Linked DNA regions of Homo sapiens: region 2 is linked to region 1. The links are contacts of gene promoters, found by promoter capture Hi-C in blood cells and fetal thymus (Javierre and others, 2016). All regions are on one chromosome and are shown on one strand. Each heading gives the region's core, a stretch centred on a gene start or on the middle of the fragment in contact. The rest is flanking DNA. Distances are from core to core; before and after follow the strand shown.

Region 1 (6,944 bases), core at 1,581-4,080:
ATGCTTTGTAAGGTGACCCCATCAGCCCGTCTCAGAAAACTCTGTCCCACCCTGGTGCCATACCCTGTTGAAGTCTTTGAAATGAAACTGCTTGAAGATGGCATCACGGCCTTCCAGCTCATTCCACCCCACAGCCCTCAGGTTTGGCAGCAGCTGGTCCCTCTCCTCAGCGCTCAGCCTGTGTGCTTTGCCAGCCTAGAAGAGGGAAAAAAACAGAGGCCCAAGGGCATTTCTCTTTATAGGTCAAAACAGAGGGGCTCCAACCTTTAGGGGAACTTAGCTTCCACTGGCTGCTTTGGACGTGGGTGACCAAAGGGCAGCAGGTCTTTGAGCAATAGGCTGGGAGGCCTCAAGGGTGGCACCCTGCCCAGGAGGTGGGGTCCAGGCTCGTCTGCCGATAGGCCCTCAGGTCTTGGGTTTTAACACTCCACACACACACAAGGGAAATCACAAAAGCAATGTAATTCATATGACGGGGACAGAGAAGCACTCTTCCCCCACCCTGCCCTCAAAGCCTTACGGACCTTCCCTCCATGAGATTATTACATCAGTGAGGGCGTAAAAGCAAAATAAATCCCAGATGCAAATATGTTACTCCACAACCTCTCAGGAAGAGTACCCATGACTCTCCCCCCTTCCTTTTCCTATTATGTACTTCATCATATGCACCCCACGTCCCTACCGTAACTTTCACGTGTATTGAAGAGGAAACAGGCCTAGAGAGGGGAAACGACTTGTCTGCTGTTCTTTCCCGCCCACCCCTAGCCAGTGATGGCGCAGTGTTGTCTGTGTGTCAGCATTGCTGGGGCTGGACGAAGGAGCTACATTTAAAATAAGTGTCCATCCCATTCTTAGCCACACTGCAGCTGACCGCCGTTGGCACTACCTCTAGTAGGTCCTCAGTCATGCTCCCAGGCAGCCTCTGGTCCTGAGCCGCCAGGGCTAGGTTTCTCTGGTTTTCCGTCTGCTTTTCTGGCTGGTTGGGAAGCTCAGGCCAAAGTGGAAGGAACTTGGCCAAAGGCAGCTGGCAAACCTAGTGCCCCATCCTATTTACCTAATGTGCGAAGTGCCCTCAAGGCAGCCCAAATTGGCACAATTCAGGCCATGAGTGGAACCTCAGAGAAAGCAAGGAAGCAAGGGTCAGTTTCATCCTAGGAGGATCCAGGTCTAGGAGCTTAACAGATCCCAGAACCTAGGCTTCTAGAGTAGCACCACCCCAGGGCAGAAATAGAGTGCTGAATTGAAAAGATACCCTTAGGGGTGGGGAGGGAATGTGAGGGAGGTTGATTTAGCTTTTATGAGGCAGCCTGCAGACTGGACACCATGTGTTGATTGGCAGGAGTTTTGAGACCCGCTTTCACCATTTACCAGCCAGGTGGCTGTACCTCTCTTGGCAGAACCTCCACCTCCACAGATCATCATGAGGTGCCAATGGGACACTTTAGGAAACTCCACTGCTATAAAGCAAATGTCATCTGCATTACAAAAAAAAAACTTCCTAAGGCAAGCAGGCTTGTGATGGGCCTGGTAGCATTTGGGGTAGCTGAAGCATCGCAGTGCTTTCCTAAGTCCGTCTTTTTTCCCTGCTGTTTTCCCTCCTGAAAACGTGAGCTCTCTCTGGACTGATGTAGCTTGGCCCCTCTCTTCCCCTCGGCTCTGGATGACTATAGGGATTGAATGGCAGCAGCGATTTGCATCATCTGCCCAGTAGGTAGGTCTCTACTCCAGAGCTGGCCTTCTCCCCGTGGCTGACCGCCTGGTCCGTGTATCTAGACAACCAGAAGTCAGCCAAAGCATCAGAGCCCACTGTTTACTTCCTTGGCTCTTAAAGGGGTGGGTGAGTCCAGGTGAGCTCTTAGGAGGCTTCCCTTTCTCGGTAGAGCCTTCTGGAACCCCCCAGGTCGCACAGCCTGCGGCTGAACTGACAAACCTTCCAGGTGCCGGCTCTGGAGACAGAGAGGGGGACGCTGCCCCGTTTGCCTCCTCTGGCGAGGTGTGGGGAGTGGTTACCGATTTCCCAAGCCTGCATCTCTGGGACCTCAGCGCCCCTCACAAACAGCCCCACTCATCCTCCCTCCCCCAAGTCCCTCTCCTATCAAAAGGCCCTCCCAGTCTTGCCTGCTCCGAAGGCCTGTGGACCAGAAATGGTCTGATGAAGCTCGCGAGCTTACAGCAGAGCAAGGGCCCCGCCCCCGCCCCCGCCCCGGGGGTGGGTGGGGGAAGCTCACGGGAGGAGGGCTGCTCCAGCGCCACCAAGCCCCCGTGGCCTGGCACGGGCCTCAAGCCGGCGCGGGGAGTGGCTCTGGGGCCAGCATACCGGCGCAGAGCGTGAGTCCCAGGCAGACCCCGTACCCAGAGTGCCAGCGGGAAGGGGCAGCGGACAGGCACGCACACGAGCGCGCAAACTCAGCCTCCCTCTCGCTCCCACCCCAGTATAAAGCAGAATCGGGCCACCAAGGGGACGAGATCCGTGGACTCCTCCACGACTGTCTTCCCCGGCCCAGGAAGGTCGTAGGCCCCGCCCCCGGAAGGGTCCCGGAACAAGCACTGGCCGGGGTCAGGGCAGGCCTGGCCTCCCAACTGGGTGGGATTCGAACCCGCCACCGCCCCTCTCAGGGCTTCAGCTTCCCCTCCCCGCCGCCAGCGACAGAGAGCCGGGCAGAGACCCCACTTTCGGACCCCGGCGGCTCCGCAGGGGACTCGAAAAGACTTTCCCCCGCCCCTTCCCGCTCCCACCTCGCCCGCGGCTGCCCCGGCCCCGCTGCCCCGATCGCGGCCGCGCACCCCTGGACTCACCATGGCGCGGGCGGCAGCAGGTGGCCAGCGGAGAGGGCAGGCGGCGGCCGGGCGCGCAGGCTGCCGTCCCGGGGCGGGGCCGCGCTCGGGCCGCCCTCCGGTAATGATTAACGTCCCCAGCCAGGGACGCGCTCGGCCTGCTTGCTTCCAGCACTTTCCTCGCTGCTCAGAGCCATCCTCCGTGCTTGTTTCAGGGAGCTAGGGTGAAGCATGAGGGCTCCAAATGCCCGCTTCTGGGTTGGAATCCCACCCCGCCGCTTACAGCTGGGTGGCCCTGGGCGCCAGAATACCTATTTTTTTCTTTATAAAAATCTCTTATTTGGATATAATTGACATGCAATAAATTGCACATATTCAACGTGTACAATTTGATAAATTTTAATGTTTCCCTCGTGAGACCATCACCGAGATCAACATTATGAACATATCATCATCCCTGCAAGTTTTCCCTTGCCCTTTGGTAACCCCTTCCTCCCGAAACCACCTGGCCAGGCAAGCACTGATGTACTTTAGGTCACTATAAATTAGTTTGCATTTTCTAGAATTTTATGTAAATGGACCATAGAGTATATACTAGGCAGGATAACTGTTTTGGGGTTCAGCCATGTTGTTGCCTATATCAATGGTTTCTTCCTTTTATGGCTAAGTAAAATTTATTTTATAGTATTGCATTGTACAGATAGACTACAATTTGTTTAGCGATTCACTATTGGACATTTGCGTTGTTTACCTTTTGGCTATTACAAATAAAGCTGCTGCGAATATGGTGCACAAATCTTCGAAAGTACGTATGTTTTAATTTTCCTTGAGTAAACACTTAGGAATGGAATGCCTGGGTCATGTGGTAGGTGGACTTTTATAACTTATTAGGAAACTGCCATACTGTTTTGCAAAATGGTTGTATCATTTTATATTCCTAGCAGCAGTGTATGAAGGTTGCAGTTCTCTGTCCTCACCAACACTTGATATAGTCAGCCTTTTAAATTTTAATTGGTGTGTAGCAGTATCTCATTGTGGTTTTGAGTTTCCTTGATTAGTAATTGTATTGAATGTCTTTTCATGTACTTATTTGCTAAGGATAAGTTTTTTTTATTGAATAGCATGTTTGAATTTCCTGCCCATTAAAAAAGAAATTGGGTTGTCTTCTTATCGAGTTTTGAGGGTGTTTTATTCTGGATATAAGGACATGATCAGGCAGTGATTTGCAAATATTTTCTTTGCATTATCTTATGGTGCCTTTCAAAGAGCAAACGTTCTTAATTTTGATGAAATCCAATATATCAAATGTTTCTTTTATGGATTTCTATTTTGATGTTGTACACATAGAAATCTTGGCCTAACCCAAGATCAAAAGTTTTCTCCTATGTTTTATAGCTTTTGGTTTTACATTTAGTCTGTGATCCACTTTGAGTAAATATTTTTATATGCTTCAAGTTATAGATCCAGATGCACTTTTGCACATGGCGACTCAGTTATTCCTTTCTCCACTGAGTTGTCTTTGCACCTTTGTAAAATATCAATTGACTGTATACATGTGGGTTTATTTCTGAGCCCTTTCTTCTGTTCCATTGATCTGTTTGTCTGTCATGACAGAACACTACCTTGTCTTGATTATTATAGCTTTATAATAAGTCTTAGAGTCAGATTAGAAAAGTCCTCTCACATTTCACATTTTTCTATTAACTTTTATTCTTGTGCTCCACTTTTATTCCCCGCCCCCCACCACCGCCCATAGCAGCCTCTCTAATGTGTTAATGTGTATTTTTGTTTGCACAGGTTCTTGCAAAATGTGTGGTGTTGTTTCGTCTATGTGTATTTTTAAATTTATGTAAATGGTATTATGTAAATATATTACATTTCTCAGTCTGTTTCTTACAAAACAGAGTATTTAGTGGAAAATTAAGATCTACCCATGTTGCTATATGTATATTCAATCTGTAGCTTTTAACTGCAGCCTAGTATTTTGTAATGAGAATCTGCCATGGGTTTCTTGTTCTATCAGTGATGGACACTCAGGTTCCCTTCAACTTTCTGCTGCTACCACCACCTCCCAAGCCCGTGAGCATGTGGGCACACAAACACATACGTACACAGAGTTAAACAACAATGCTGCTGCAGTGAACATCTCTAATTGCTCCCTGGGCTGTGGGCAGTTTCTTAGGCAACTTAAGTATATCCATACCCTATAAATCCAGCAATTCCCCCCATGGGTGTGTATCTCAAAATAGTTCTAGATGATGTCCAGGATGGGGACACCAGTCCTCATTCTCTCCTGCATGGTGTGAGGGGGTACTATTTCCATATGCATCTTACACATACATACTCACACTTCCCATTAGCCAGCTTTTTATTTTTTTGTCAGGCTAATAGCTATAAAATGAGAGCTTGTTGTGATGCAGGATTTTTCTTGACCCCTTTGCTGAGGTTGCAGCAGGGAGTGCCTTATCTACTCAGCTTGCCAGGCCCCATCTGGCTTGTGTTACAGCCCATGGCTCACAAGGCCACTGCGACTGTATGCTCAGCCCCTGGCGGGAGGGAGCATGTGACCGAGTGAATGCAGGGTCCAGCCAGCTGCACTGAGCCATGACACAGGAACAGGCTCTGTGTGGGGCCCACAGCCAGATCAGGTGTGTCACCCCAAGGAGACTGTGGCAGCACCCAGGCAGGGGTGCCTGAAGCCCCAGAGAGGGGTGTTACAGTGTGCTAAATAGCTCTTTTATCTCCACCATCTGCAGCCTGATGGACAGCGGCATGTTGGCAGCTCAGGCGGCCCCTTTCTCCACTCTGGCCCGTGGCTCCTGGACCAGCTTGGCCCTGCTGCAGCTTCTGTTCTGTGGGGCAGCTGCCCTCCACCAGTGAGGGTAGAGGGCCAGCGTTACAGCCTTTGTGGGTGCCCACATTTGGTGGGTCCTGAGCTCTTGTTCTGCATCCAAGAAGAATGAGGTCATGCTGACAGTTGAAGGGTGATGAGGATGGAGAATTTTATTGACGATGAAACAGCTCTCAGTGGAGAGGGATTGAGAAGGTGGGGTTGTCTATCTCAGTGTGGCTGAGTCTAGGGGGTTTTATAGGCACAGGATTGGGGAGGGGCGGGCTGTAGGTAGTATTAGAAAAGGCAACATTTGATTGGTTAAAAAGCATTATTCAGAAAGAACCAATCAGGAAAGGGTGGGCAAACAGGAACAGAAGTTCTCACCCTGGTTTGAGGGGTTTCATCCCAAACCAGCAGTCCAGGCTGTTTTTGGCTTGAAGGTGGGGTTTCACTGGGGACCCACCCCCATCTGCCTAGGAAATTGTCTGCCTCCTGCCGCTTTCAATTGTTTTACTCTACATTGTTTTCTGATGACTAATGATTTTGAGAACCTCTTCATATGCTTGTTACCATTTGGGGGTTACTATTTGTGAATTGCTTTTTAATATCCTTTGCCAATTTTTGAGAATTTTTAGTGCTCTCTTTTTTTAGTTGGTTTGTGGGTGTTTATATAAAATCTAGACATTAATTGCTTGTCAGTTTTGATATTGCAAATATCTCCTCTCATTCTGCCATCTGTATACTGACTTCTTGCATGAGATCCATGATGTCTGTGGGCAGAAATCTTATATTTTGGTGTAATAAGATTTATCTTTTTTCCCTCTGCCTTATAATTTTGTGCATTTGAAAATTTATTTGATAAGTCCTCTCCCCACCCTGCTACAAAAATATACTCCCTTTTCTTTTGTTAACTTTATAGTTAGATAGATTTAAGACCTAAATGTGAAAGGTCCCTTTTGGTATGTAGTGTTAGGCAGGATGTTAGTCTCCAAAGATAGCCCCCAATGAACCATGACTCCCAATATTCACACCCTGCATAGTTCTCACCCATGTTGAATCTGGGATGGCCCAGTATGACCAGTCAAATATGGCAGAAATGTCACCATGTGACTTTGTTTTGATACAGTGTCTTGCTCTGTCGCCCAGGCTGGAGTGCAGTGGTGCAATCATAGCTCATTGCAGCCTTGACCTCCTGGGCTCAAGTGATCCTCCTGCCTCAGCTCCCCCAGGTAGTCACCATGCCTGGATAATGTTTTAAATTTTTTACAGAGACAGGACATTTCTATGTTGCCAGGCTGGTCTCAAATTCTTGGGCTCAAATGTTGGGCCTTGGCCT
Region 2 (6,944 bases), core at 1-2,500, 660 kb before region 1:
GGTAGAATTCTCGCCTGCTAAATCAGGTACTTCCAGTTTGTAGGCCTCAGGCTACAGCTTGGGGTGAGTGACTCATCTGTAAAATCAATGTTTAGCACACTTTTTTTTTATTATTATACTTTAAGTTTTAGGGTATATGTGCACAAAGTGCAGGTTTGTTACATATGTATACATGTGCCATGTTGCATGTTGGTGTGCTGCACCCATTAACTCATCATTTAGCATTAGGTATATCTCCTAATACTATCCTTTCCCCCTCCCCCCACCCCACAACAGGCCCCGGTGTGTGATGTTCCCCTTCCTGTGTCCACGTGTTCTCATTGTTCAATTCCCACCTATGAGTGAGAAATGCGGTGTTTGGTTTTTTGTCCTTGCAACAGTTTGCTGAGAATGATGGTTTCCAGCTTCATCCATGTCCCTACAAAGGACATGAACTCATCATTTTTTATGCATGGAATACTAGCACACTTTCAAATGCATGTAGATGCTGTAGTAATACTTGTCTCAGCCAGGCGTGGCGACTAACGTCTATAATCCTAGCACTTTGGGAGGCAGAGGCAGGAGGACCGCTTGAGGCCAAGAGTTCAAGACCAACCTGACCAACATAGCAAGACCCTGTCTCTTAAAAAACATTTTTTTAAAGAGAGAGAGAGAGAGAGACGGGGTCTCACTCTGTCATCCAGACTGGAGTACAGTGACGCAATCATAGCTCACTGCAGCCTCCAACTCCTGGTCTCAAGCAATCCTCCTGCCTCAGCCTCCTAAGTAGCTGGGCCTACAGGTGTGCACCACCACACCTGGCTAATTGTTTTTTAATTATGTTTTTGGAGATGAAGTCACACTATGTTGAGCAGGCTGGTCTCTAATTCCTAGCCTCAAGTGATCCTCCTGCCTATGCATCCCTAGTAGCTGGGACTACAGGTGCAAGCCATCCTGCCCAGCTCTGTACTTGTAAGGAGGGGGTGTTCCACATACTTTAGCAGGAATTACTACTAAAGAACAACCTTCTTCTAGACATCTGGCTACAATTCAAAGAGTTGCTACTAGGTGAACAACAGTGATATTTAGGATTTTTCAGGGCAACTGATATGAGAAATTCAATGAATTTTATAGCAACAGAGTTGCTATAAAAACTATTACTGTTTTTATGCATTCTAATGATTCCAATATTCACGCACTTAAAAAATACTGATTTTAAGAAATTTCGTACTACCCAGTTACAAATTCATTCCTTCTTCTTTAATCCCAACTGGTTTCAGCTTTTACTTAGCTGGATCTTGGATTTACTATCTTGTTACTCCCACTGTTAGGACTTCCCAGAACTCCATCCTCCAATCCTACCATGCTTTGGAGTCTCAGTCATTGCTCTGGCATCAGAGCTCTCAGCTCTCTGTTAACAGTTTCAGAAAAGAAGGAAGTTAAGTCTCCCTAGAGGGATGATTTTGATAAACTCAATAATTACCTTGCTGATAAACCAGTGGGGGATAAGGGAAAAGGCAAACTATAACTTTAGCTCTTGTTCCCAAAGTCAGAAATATAACTGTCTATTTCAGGCCAGGTATGGTGGCTCGTGCCTGTAAACCTAGCACTTTGGGAGGCTGAGGCAAGAGGATTGCTTAGACTAGGAGTTCAAGACCAGCCTGAGCAACATAGACAGACCCTGTCTCTACAAAAAAAAAAAAAAAAAAAAGTCTATTTCCCTTCCCAGATTTACAATCATTTTATCAAGTAGTCAAGATGTTACAACAAAACATTAAAGATGTCCAGATTCTAAGGAAACTGGAAACTCAACAACTCTACATTATGTCACTCCATTAATCAAAAATATTTAAAATAAAAATGTTTCAGGAATAGAAGAAATATCTCCTATATCTTGGTTAGGTGTGTAACTTCACTAATTAAACAGGAATATTAATCACAGTAGTATGGTGAGGCCCCGTCTCATCTCCAAACTGGTTAGGGTCTTATGGACCAAGTCAGTAGTCTGACAAGTTGTTTACTAATAAATAGGCTACGGCCATTTGGTAGGCTGTTATTACTAATGCAGTTAAGTACATATATAGGGAACATGCTCTTAATTTAATTACAGCACGTCTTTAAATCCTAGCAGTTAAGTTCAATGTGTCTTTATTGAGACTTATTTCTTATTTATTTATTTTATTTTATTTTTTGAGACAGAGTTTCGCTCTTGTTACCCAGGCTGGAGCACAATGGTGCAATCTCGGCTCACTGCAACCTCCGTCTCCCGGGTTCAAGCAATTCTCCTGCCTCAGCCTCCCGAGTAGCTGGGATTACAGGCATGCACCACCATGCCCAGCTAATTTTTGTATTTTTAGTAGAGACAGGGTTTCTCCATGTTGGTCAGGCTGGTCTCGAGCTCCCGACCTCAGGTGATCCGCCCACCTTGGCCCCCCAAAGTGTTGGGATTACAGGCATGAGCCACCGCGCCCAGCATTGAGATTTATTTCTAACCCTGGATTTGGTAAATTCGATGAACTATACTACAGAATTATACCAAGTGGCTGACATTAGCATTTTCAAGTTGACTCATTGTGTGTTTCTCTAGATAACTTCAGAAATCTAGTAAATACCAGGCTTAGAAAGAAACACAAAAATCACCCTGTGGTCCCACCACTCTTATTTATTTATTTATTTATTTAGAGACAGAGTCTCACCTGTCACCCAGGCTGAAGTGCAGTGGCATGATCTCAGCTCACTGCAACCTCCGTCTCCGGGGCTCAAGTGATCCTCCTACCTCTGCCTCCTGGACCACAGGCACCTGCCACCACACCCAGCTAATTTTTTTTTTTCTATTTTTGGTAAAGACCGGGTTTCACCATGTTGCTGAGGCTGGTCATGAACTCCTGAGCTCAAGCAATTCGTCCACCTAGGCTGCCCAGAGTGCTAGAATTACGGGCATAAGCCACGGCACCCAGCCCACCCCCCATTTTTTAATCTTTATTGTTTTGCAATAAAATTTGGAGAAAAAACAGTAGAGGTAGAGAGAATTTTCTTCTAAATTTATCTAGAGCATAAACATAAAGCAAGAAACTAATCCAAACCAAGCTTTAACTTTTTTTTTTTTTTTGGAACTTATAGACTAGTTTTGGAGTATAAAATCCCTATCAGAAGAGCTCACGTAGTTAAAAGAAAATGTTCCATCCCCATAAAGATGCTTTCGAAAAGGTATACCAGATTTCACCATTTCCAAGAATACTTTATCTTATTCACTGCTCACCAAATGACAATGGCTCTTAATTCTAAGTTTTGGCTGTAAAGTTGGTTATATGATTCTAGAAGGATATACTCTAAGTTGTTAAAAGTATATGGATACCTGAAGTATTTCATCGAAAGTGACAGAAGTCTATTTGAGAAGCTATCAGAAAGAAATACGATGACCGAAGTTCACACTGTTGTGCCCCTTATTCACTTAGAATTGTGACTTAGCAAAGAAAGACATGACTTACACCAACCCAAAAAACATTTGTTCAACAAATTGTGTTAAGATTCCAAGGGAGATCATTAACTTATTAAAGTAAAGAAATTAAAACACATACACACAAAACTTTTAGTAATACTCATTTGTTTTCCAGTTACATAGATTTTCTACTCATTGCAGCTCAAACAAATGCCTGTATTTGCTACTACACACTACCATATGTACCTGTGTAGAGCAATAACTTAATTTGTCATGTCATAATTAAGAATAAGCTGCTGGCTGGGTGTGGGAGCGCACACCTGTAATCCCAGCACTTTGGGAGCTGAGGTGGGTGGACTGTTTGAGCTCAGGAGTTCGAGACCAGCGAAAGCCTGTCTCTACCAATACAAAAAAATTAGCCAGGTACGGTGGTGTGTGCCTGTAGTCCCAGCTACTCAGGAGACTGAGGTGGGAGGATTGCTCGAGCCCAGGAGATGGAGCCTGCAGTGAGCCAAGATCACAGCACTGCATGGGTGACAGAGTGAGACCCTGTCTTAAAAAAAAAAAGAAAAAGAAAGAAAAAGCTGCTATTTTTGCTATTTTTTCTTTTCAGATAAGCTTTATGATGACTAAATTTTGAAAACAGATATTCTAAGCATAATCTGTTTATTTTCCTGTCTTTACAAAATCAAGCAAAAGGGTCTGCATTTCCAGTTGTCAAACTTTTCTGTTTTGCAATGACTAATAATTTTGAGCGTGGAAACTTCCCCAAGAAAAATGCATTTATGCCAAATTGCAGATAATATTCTGTTAAGTTTCTGAAGCATCAATCTATTTGATTAGAGGCTTGACTTTCTTTCAGAAGGGGAAAAAAGAAACACATATTCCATATTTATATATGCTTCTATACGCTCCCAACAATCACCTGAAAAAAATAGAACCCTACATTGTCAGAACTAGAATTTAACATGAAAGTTTAAGATATGGAATAGAAAAATATCTGATTTCTAAAACTAAAAAATCAGGTCATGATATTTGAGCACTTTAAGATTTAGAGAAAGCTTTTATCTACCCAGTGTTTCATACTGTTTATACCATGTTTTGGAAAATTTCTGGTATCTCAGAAGTTTTATGTTAGAAGATACTCTGAGCTATAGGTGCTTTTATATTTGATCCTAAAATTGACCCAGAGCAAAGGACATCCCTACAATTTAAAAATATCCAGTGAGCCCTTGCCTTTACCTTCTCTACCCACTGGATTCGGAAATAATCAAAGCAGGGTACGCGAGTCACAAGATTTTCCAGAACTGGCTGGACTGATTACCTAATGGCATATGCCAAACTGAATATCCACATTAAAAGGTCCTGATATGGGTTGGACACAGTGGCTCACGCCTGCAACCCCAGCACTTCTGGAGGCTGAGGTGGGCAGATCGCTTGAAACCAGGAGTTCGAGACCAGCCTGGGCAACATAGGGAAACCCTGTCTCTACAAAAAAATAGAAAAATTAGCTGGGCGTGGTGGTGTATGCCTGTGGTTCCAGCTATTCAGGAGGCTGGAGCAGGAGGATCACTTGTGCCTGAGAGGTTGAAGCTGCAGTAAGCCAAGATCATGCCACTGCACACCAGCCTGAGTGACAAAGTGAAACCCTATCTCAAAAAAAAAAAAAAAAAAAAAAAAAGTCTGATATGGATATGAGCCCTTGGGCATTTTTCCTTAGTCTGATATCAATATGAGCCCTTGGACATTTTTCCTTAGTGGAGCTGACTGAGCTGTGTTAAAGGTACATGCTCACTAGATCATGACATTCCCTCATTATAATCCCTCGGATGACTGACCATATTAGGAATAAAGTCCAAGGCCAAGCCCGTGAGAATGTATTCATGTAAACTTAATCACAATAGATTTTTTATACAAAAGAAAGAAAATCACACTCTAATGAATCAAGTTAATCAGATTTTTTTTTTAAGGCTATAATCCAAAATGATGTCTACCACACCTTTATTTGTGTTTTAAACAAGTAACTTCCTTTAAAACAAAACAAAAGAATTCCTTCCAGCCTCTCAGGCAGGAAGGCTTCTGCCCAAGGTCCACTGAGGTCTAGACTACTGGTAAAATCCAGAGTCATAAGAACTTGTGCTTTTGAGCTGGGACAGGGCGTGCCAAGGGCAGAGTCTTCCTTTGAGTAATCCACTTTATAGACACAACCAGTCCCTTATAAGGCTTCAGTGTCTGAGAGTAATCTAAGTGAACACACTTAACAGGACACCAAAATGTAGCCTGTTTCCTATTTTGGAGTAACCTGAAGCAGCAATAAGAGTAGGTACCAAAACATCTATGATCATTCTGGTCCTTGGTAGGAATACAGTCACTTAGAACACTGGGAAAATAGCTCTATGTCAAGAAAATGTTTTCCTACCTGTAGCATACCTGTATGCCAGGGTATTATCAATAAACTTAGGGTCATCATTTTATACCTCTTCATTGCTCAAAATGGTCTGAGATGCTACAGTATGATATACATGCTATTATACAACAAGCAGATAATTCAAGCCAACCCAATGGGGCCAATTGAAGAGGGAAGGATTCTGCAGTTTATATCAACTCCCAGGAAATCAGATGTAACAAATTCGAGTTTCTGAATAAATACCACTCTGACACTCCCACAGGAAAAACACATGCCAATTAGAAGTCCCTCCTGTATTTGTGGCACATAATTGGCCTAGGGCTGTTTGCTCCATTGCCTCTAATTGGAGTCTTACCCAGGAAGGCTCCTGGGAAGCAATGTAAAAATTGGAATTTCAGGCAGTACAGAACTGCAGCAAACTTCCTGGTAGAAGTGCAATGAATGTGTCTATTTCTATCTAATAGTCAGGCCCAGAAAAACAGTAAGACAGCACACACAAGAACAAAATTACTATTATTCTAGACGTGCACTGCAAAGTGATGTTCGTGTTGTATATTGACATCTAGCTAAAGAAAGTCAATAACCTATGTAACTCTTACAACTCAAAAACCTTTGTACTCAATGTGAATCAAACTTCCTTACTGAAGGAAAAAAACTGAAAGGTAGAAAAAGAATAAGATATTTGTCCTTGTGTTAAGTTGCTAAATACAGTACAAACTGCTTCCATTGGAAAGGAGAGTAAGAAAAGATGTGTTTTTTAAAATGACTGTTTAAAGTTGTTCTTATAACACATGTTCTTTGTAAAAAGATTAGACAATATAAAAAGACAAAAATGAAAATAAAACCAAGAGTCACTGGCAGTCCCACGAATCATAACTATTTTGATATATATTTTATTGTTATTTATTTTCCTAAGACAGGTTCTTGCTATGTTGCCCAGTCTGGTCTCAAACTCCTGGACTCAAGTGATCCTCCCAGCACAGCCTCCCAAGTGGGATTACAATTGCCCCACACTCAGCTATTCTGGTGTATACAGTTGTAGACTTCTTTTTCCCCTAGAAAAGTAAAGACTTTTACAATTTGTGGTAAGCCTACCAATCTGTATTAAAGTTAGGTTTC

The links. Contacts are between HindIII fragments. The CHiCAGO score rates a contact against its expected background, and 5 or more counts as called.
Region 2: a fragment that was not itself captured here is called in contact with the fragment with the promoter of PCBD1 in region 1 in 1 of 17 cell types (total B cells); the score reaches 6.1 in total B cells.

The regions. Positions count from the first base shown.
Region 1 is chr10:70,885,735-70,892,678 of GRCh38, forward strand. It overlaps PCBD1 (pterin-4 alpha-carbinolamine dehydratase 1), which reads right to left and starts at 2,831. Exons shown (of 4, transcript NM_000281.4): 1 at 2,797-2,831; 2 at 64-195. The coding sequence starts at 2,799. RefSeq lists silencers at 2,088-2,367, 2,698-2,947. The HindIII fragment of the contact is 14,850 bases long and covers 1-6,944 here.
Region 2 is chr10:70,222,577-70,229,520 of GRCh38, forward strand. The region is part of intron 2 of PPA1 (inorganic pyrophosphatase 1); the gene reads right to left. Among named protein-coding and RNA genes, the nearest start is that of PPA1, 7.4 kb to the right of the region's middle. RefSeq lists an enhancer at 1-165. The HindIII fragment of the contact is 3,628 bases long and covers 1-3,064 here.